Linked DNA regions of Homo sapiens: region 1 is linked to region 2. Evidence: promoter capture Hi-C in 16 types of primary human blood cells and fetal thymus (Javierre and others, 2016). All regions are on one chromosome and are shown on one strand. The core of a region is centred on a gene start or on the middle of the fragment in contact, and the rest is flanking DNA. Distances in the headings are between cores, read along the strand shown.

Region 1 (2,700 bases), core at 12-2,511, 550 kb before region 2:
AGCTGTCTTTTAATAAAGGCCCCCAGAAGGAATCACTCAACACTTATGCTTCCTTTTCATGGGCTAGAACTTAGTCATATAGCCATGTCTAGAAGGCTGGGAAATGCACTCTTCATTCTGGGCACTGAGTGTGCAAGTGAATGTTGGGATTTCTGTTACTTCTAACAGACAAGGAGTGAAGAGTAGATATAGGAGGCCCGCTGGCCATCTCTGCCATAAACACTGAAATCTGTTTAAATTGAAACCAAGGTTAAACAACGGGTAGTTACCATTATAGAACCAAACGTAAATGTAATACCTTTTGACAATATAAAAATACTGTCTAGTAGATGACATAAGATTGGTCTGTAAGATGCACCATGTAGCAATCCATTGCAAAATAAAAATGATGAGGCCGTGTGTGGTAGCTTATGCCTGTAATCCCAGCACTTTGGGAGACCAAGGTGGGAGGATCACTTGAGGCCAGAAGTTCAAGACCAGCCTGGTCAACACAGAGAGACCTCATCTCCTGGACAACATAGAGAGACCTCATCACCACATACACACATATATTTTTTTTTAAATTTTTTTTGTTATACTTTAAGTTCTGGGATACATGTGCAGAATGTGCAGGTTTGTTACATAGGTATACATGTGCCATGGTGGTCTGCTGCGCCCATCAACCCATCATCTACATTAGGTATTTCTCCTAATGCTATCCCTCCCCTAGCCCCCCACTGCCCGACAGGCCCCAGTGACACACACAATATTTTAAAGTGGTGGATCTGGGGTCAGGTGTGAGCAGGAACACAGAGCGCTATATAGATGAGTAGACTTAACTTAAATGTCTTGCTTTGTATGTTGAACTAAGGGAAAATTATGTGAATCTGAAGGAATGACTCTGTAAGATGGTTCAAGTAAACAAGGAGTCTTGCACAATTTTGACCTCTTGATGGCTTCTCCCAGACTTTTGGTTTGCTGGCCAACTTTTCTTTCAGATGGAGGCAAAGGTTAAATCTGTGACTAGGTGTTACCATAAAGCAATCTCTCAAACATTTTTTCTCTTAAGACAAATGTGTCATAATGACATACCATAGGAGATGTTCTTTAACACTCCAGGAGACAAGGGAGTTACTTTCCAAGATAGATTAATTCGCTTTCTTGGGAAGCTTCCCCTCAGGAATCCTATTCTTCCAAGTACACTGCTCATAATTACCCAGGCAACCAGTCCATTCAAGTCATGTAGGGCTAAATAGTACAAAAGTGGACTGGGGAAGAGTGAAAACTATCATTGTGTATCTTGTATAACATATAGAAAGCAATTAAACAAGAATGAAAGACAAGATCTGCCTAAGTAGAGAAAGAGGTTGAGTTGGGTATTACACGATATTGAGATTAAGCTTAAAATTATGTATTGTGCATTGTGAAAAAAATTTATGTATTGTGAAGTAATTTTTAAACAGTCAAGCTGATAAAGTCTTTATTTTCATAATTTACACTTTTAAGTTGCTTTATACAATGTTAATTTAATTCAAAGGTATTTAATCTTAAAGATCAGTTATAAAGCATACTTTTCTCTCCCAGGACACAGATGTGGTCAACTAAGAACGTGGGTAGTAGTCATTAATACAGTCAAATAATAACACTTTTCTCCTGTACCACAAGATGGCAGCACATGCAAGGGTGCCTATTTACAGTAATCATTTGTGTATAGTTTTAATGTCTCTGGGTTTTGGATGATTTAAAGGGTAGCCTTCTACCTTCTAGAATATAAGTAGTTTATATTATTGCTTTTTTGTTGTTGCTTATTATTATTGCTTATTTTGTTGTTGTTCATCTTCTTAAGTTCAAGAGCAACACGTATTTTTCCCTCTATAATATCAGATCAAAATTTGTTCTTTTACAAATTAAGCTACCTGGTCGGGGGGGGAAAAAACCTATTTACTTTTAGGCCCATGAGAGGATATATCCTTCCTCACAAATGTTATTTGACCTCTCTTTCGATTTAGACTCACAAGAGAAATAATCTCAAATTGCTGTTCCCTCTATAAAGTTCTTCCCCTAGATTTCACATTGCTTTTTCAAGTTTCATAGGTATCTGCTCAATTCATTTCTATGAAGACCTCCATGATTGCCCTGTAAAAAAAAAAAAAAAGACATCATAACACCATTTGTACCTCTAGTATTCCTCTCCCTCCCTGATTCTAATTTATTATTGTCAACCAATCTACCATACCTTTACTTATTTATTTGTTTATTGTTCTCCCCTAGTAATATGTAAGCTTTGCAAGAGAAAGGATTTTGTCAGGCTTGTTCATGGTTGTATCCCCAACTTCCAGAATAGTGCCTGCACTTGGTGGGTATTCACTAAACATGTGTTGAAAGTATGTATTGCCATAAAGGTTGGAACAATTGAAATAATTGTAGCAAGATGGTAGGTGTATTTAAACAGAACAAGTGTCATAAATAAAAGAGCTCTAACCTAAGGATGGAGAGGTAGAAGTTCTCATTCCTGTTCTACGCGACTACTAAGGACCCTCATGCTGCCATTCAAACTTCGTGGTATTTGGGTTCTATTTAGTCAATATGGATAATAATATCACTTTTACTCATATCCTGACATAGATGTGAAGCTCTGGTTATGTAAATTAAGCAAATATGAATAATAAAATTATTTCTTTAATTTTTAATGATTTGAGATCACAGAGAATGAAGCTAGTT
Region 2 (2,700 bases), core at 19-2,518:
TATATGGGGTTGAATTGCCCCAAAGAGGACAGAAACAGCAAAAACATATTTTTTTATGTACAAGTAAAAAGTACAGAAGACAAAATAATCTCACCTGGTCTGAGATCTTTAGAATATAATGTTTAATGTTGATTCCCTTACTCTTACTCCTTTTAGGACTCGTGTGTGTGTGTGTGTGTGTGTGTGTGTGTGTGTGTGTGTAATGGGGTGGGGTAGGGGAAGGAGAGAAACTGATAGTACTGATGAATGGGGAGCTAGAAAGACAAGGAAGGAAAAGAGGCTCTGAAACCTAAGGGTGCCTACTGTCCTGGGAAACTTTAAAGCATATTCCATGACGAATTACATTATCTCCGGGCTTAGAAAATTCCGAAAAAGATGGGAAGACAAATCAAAGGCCTTTGATAAATGAGGCCTCAGTTTTGTGGTCAAGTCTGCACTAATTTTTGCCTTGTGTGATGTGCGAATTTGACAAAAAGAGGCGCTGGATTGAGGAGTGGGATGGGAAGGGGGAGGCACCTCTACCTGCACACGGGGGCAGGGGATGGATGCAAATCAGGCCTTCCCGAGTGGCCAATCAATAGTCAGGTGAGGGATTTTGGGTCCCCACCCCATCCCAACCGGCGTTTGAGCACGTGCACGGTGTTCTGGGACCTTTGTCCCGCAAAGTCACGCTTGGCGGGCACCCCTTGGTCCCTTTTTCTGGTCAGATGTGCTTGATTCTTTTCTGCTCTACAACCCACCTCTCTAGTCGTGTCTTCCCATCTCCCTACTCATTCCCTCCCGCGCCGCTGCGGGTGAGAGCCTTCAGCGGTGCGTCCTAAGGAGCGTGAGGAGTGTGCGGAGCTTGGCACACCAAGTTGCTGAGACTGTGACACCAGCCTCCGCCCGTTCCGCGCGGGTGCAGGCGGCGAGCCTCGGCTCGGACACCACAGCTCTCCTGCCCGCGCCGGGCAGTCCTCTGCCTGTCCAGAGGCAGCACTCCCGGCTCTCGGCTGGCTGTGGGTCTGTCTTGTGGGGCTCCAGCACTAGCCTGCTCGGCCTCGGAAACTCCTGCAGCGTCCAGAACACAGAAAATAGACTCATCTCCTAATTCGCCAGGGAGCTCGAGGGCTGCGGGGCCGCGGGGCTGCCTCCCCCGCTCCTCCCCCAACCCGACCCCACCCCACCCCCGCCAGGGCTTCGGCGGCCTCCCGGAGTCACACAGCCTACCCCCCCACCCCAACACCCCCTCCCCCGGCAGACAAAGGGCCTGGGCAAATTCGCCGCCCGGCCTCCTAGCGCTCCGGGGAGGCCGCTGCGCCCCGGAGTGGATCGCGCTGGAGGCGTGCGCCGGGCGAGAAGCCGCGGCCGCGGGAGCGCAGTATGGGGAAGAACCGCGAGATGCGCCTGACTCACATCTGCTGCTGCTGCCTCCTTTACCAGCTGGGGTTCCTGTCGAATGGGATCGTTTCAGGTAAGTTCTTCCGTGACTTTCTCGCTTCCTTTCCAGCCATCCCAGCGGAGACCGCGAACGTACGGGTCGGCAGGGCTGGTGCAACCGGTGCGTGGAGAGCAGGGCTCAGTGGGTAGCAATAAAAATGAGCTTGAGGTGCAGGTTAAGGGGTCAAGTTCGGAAATGAAGCACACTTCTGCCGGCCTCGTTTTAACCGTATGTGGAATAGTTTCCTTCTAATTAGAGCAATAATATTTGCAAAGGTACGTTTACAGCACCTGGAGGAAAATTAGAACGTACCTAAGTTGATAGCAACGCTCTGCTCTAGCATACACTTCAGAAATCGTTTACTCGTGCTGGAGTCTTTGCATCGGTTTTCTTTTCAACAATGAAGTGCGGTCACCAAACTTTGATTCCCCCTCCCCCGCCCCTAATATAATCGTACTTTTACTCTGAAAATGCTGGGGTCTGTAATCTGATCGCAAGGCTTCTGGGGTTGCAGAGTTTCAGGGTCTAGACGGGTGGTCTCCATTGCATTCAACGCGAGCGCCCTGTATCTATGGACTGTGAGCTTGGAAATGTTTGTGCTACTGGAACCGCGGCACTTTAAGCCCCGCACTTCTGTCTGCCCCGCCCGCAGAGCTGCAGTTCGCCCCCGACCGCGAGGAGTGGGAAGTCGTGTTTCCTGCGCTCTGGCGCCGGGAGCCGGTGGACCCGGCTGGCGGCAGCGGGGGCAGCGCGGACCCGGGCTGGGTGCGCGGCGTTGGGGGCGGCGGAAGCGCCCGGGCGCAGGCTGCCGGCAGCTCACGCGAGGTGCGCTCTGTGGCTCCGGTGCCTTTGGAGGAGCCCGTGGAGGGCCGATCAGAGTCCCGGCTCCGGCCCCCGCCGCCGTCGGAGGGTGAGGAGGACGAGGAGCTCGAGTCGCAGGAGCTGCCGCGGGGATCCAGCGGGGCTGCCGCCTTGTCCCCGGGCGCCCCGGCCTCGTGGCAGCCGCCGCCTCCCCCGCAGCCGCCCCCGTCCCCGCCCCCGGCCCAGCATGCCGAGCCGGATGGCGACGAAGTGTTGCTGCGGATCCCGGCCTTCTCTCGGGACCTGTACCTGCTGCTCCGGAGAGACGGCCGCTTCCTGGCGCCGCGCTTCGCAGTGGAACAGCGGCCAAATCCCGGCCCCGGCCCCACGGGGGCAGCATCCGCCCCGCAACCTCCCGCGCCACCAGACGCAGGCTGCTTCTACACCGGAGCTGTGCTGCGGCACCCTGGCTCGCTGGC

What was found. Contacts are between HindIII fragments. The CHiCAGO score rates a contact against its expected background, and 5 or more counts as called.
Region 1: a fragment that was not itself captured here is called in contact with the fragment with the promoter of ADAMTS19 in region 2 in 3 of 17 cell types (megakaryocytes, total CD4 T cells and erythroblasts); the score reaches 7.4 in megakaryocytes.

Annotation. Positions count from the first base shown.
Region 1 is chr5:128,904,067-128,906,766 of GRCh38, forward strand. All of the region lies in intron 6 of LOC105379168 (a long non-coding RNA gene), which reads left to right. Among named protein-coding and RNA genes, the nearest start is that of SLC27A6, 60 kb to the right of the region's middle. The HindIII fragment of the contact is 231 bases long and covers 1,147-1,377 here.
Region 2 is chr5:129,459,030-129,461,729 of GRCh38, forward strand. ADAMTS19 (ADAM metallopeptidase with thrombospondin type 1 motif 19) reads left to right here and starts at 1,269. Exons shown (of 23, transcript NM_133638.6): 1 at 1,269-1,453; 2 at 2,073-2,700. The coding sequence starts at 1,363. ADAMTS19-AS1 (ADAMTS19 antisense RNA 1) reads right to left here and starts at 1,660. Exons shown (of 2, transcript NR_125748.1): 1 at 1,396-1,660; 2 at 530-1,050. RefSeq lists an enhancer at 228-1,190. The HindIII fragment of the contact is 6,646 bases long and covers 1-2,700 here.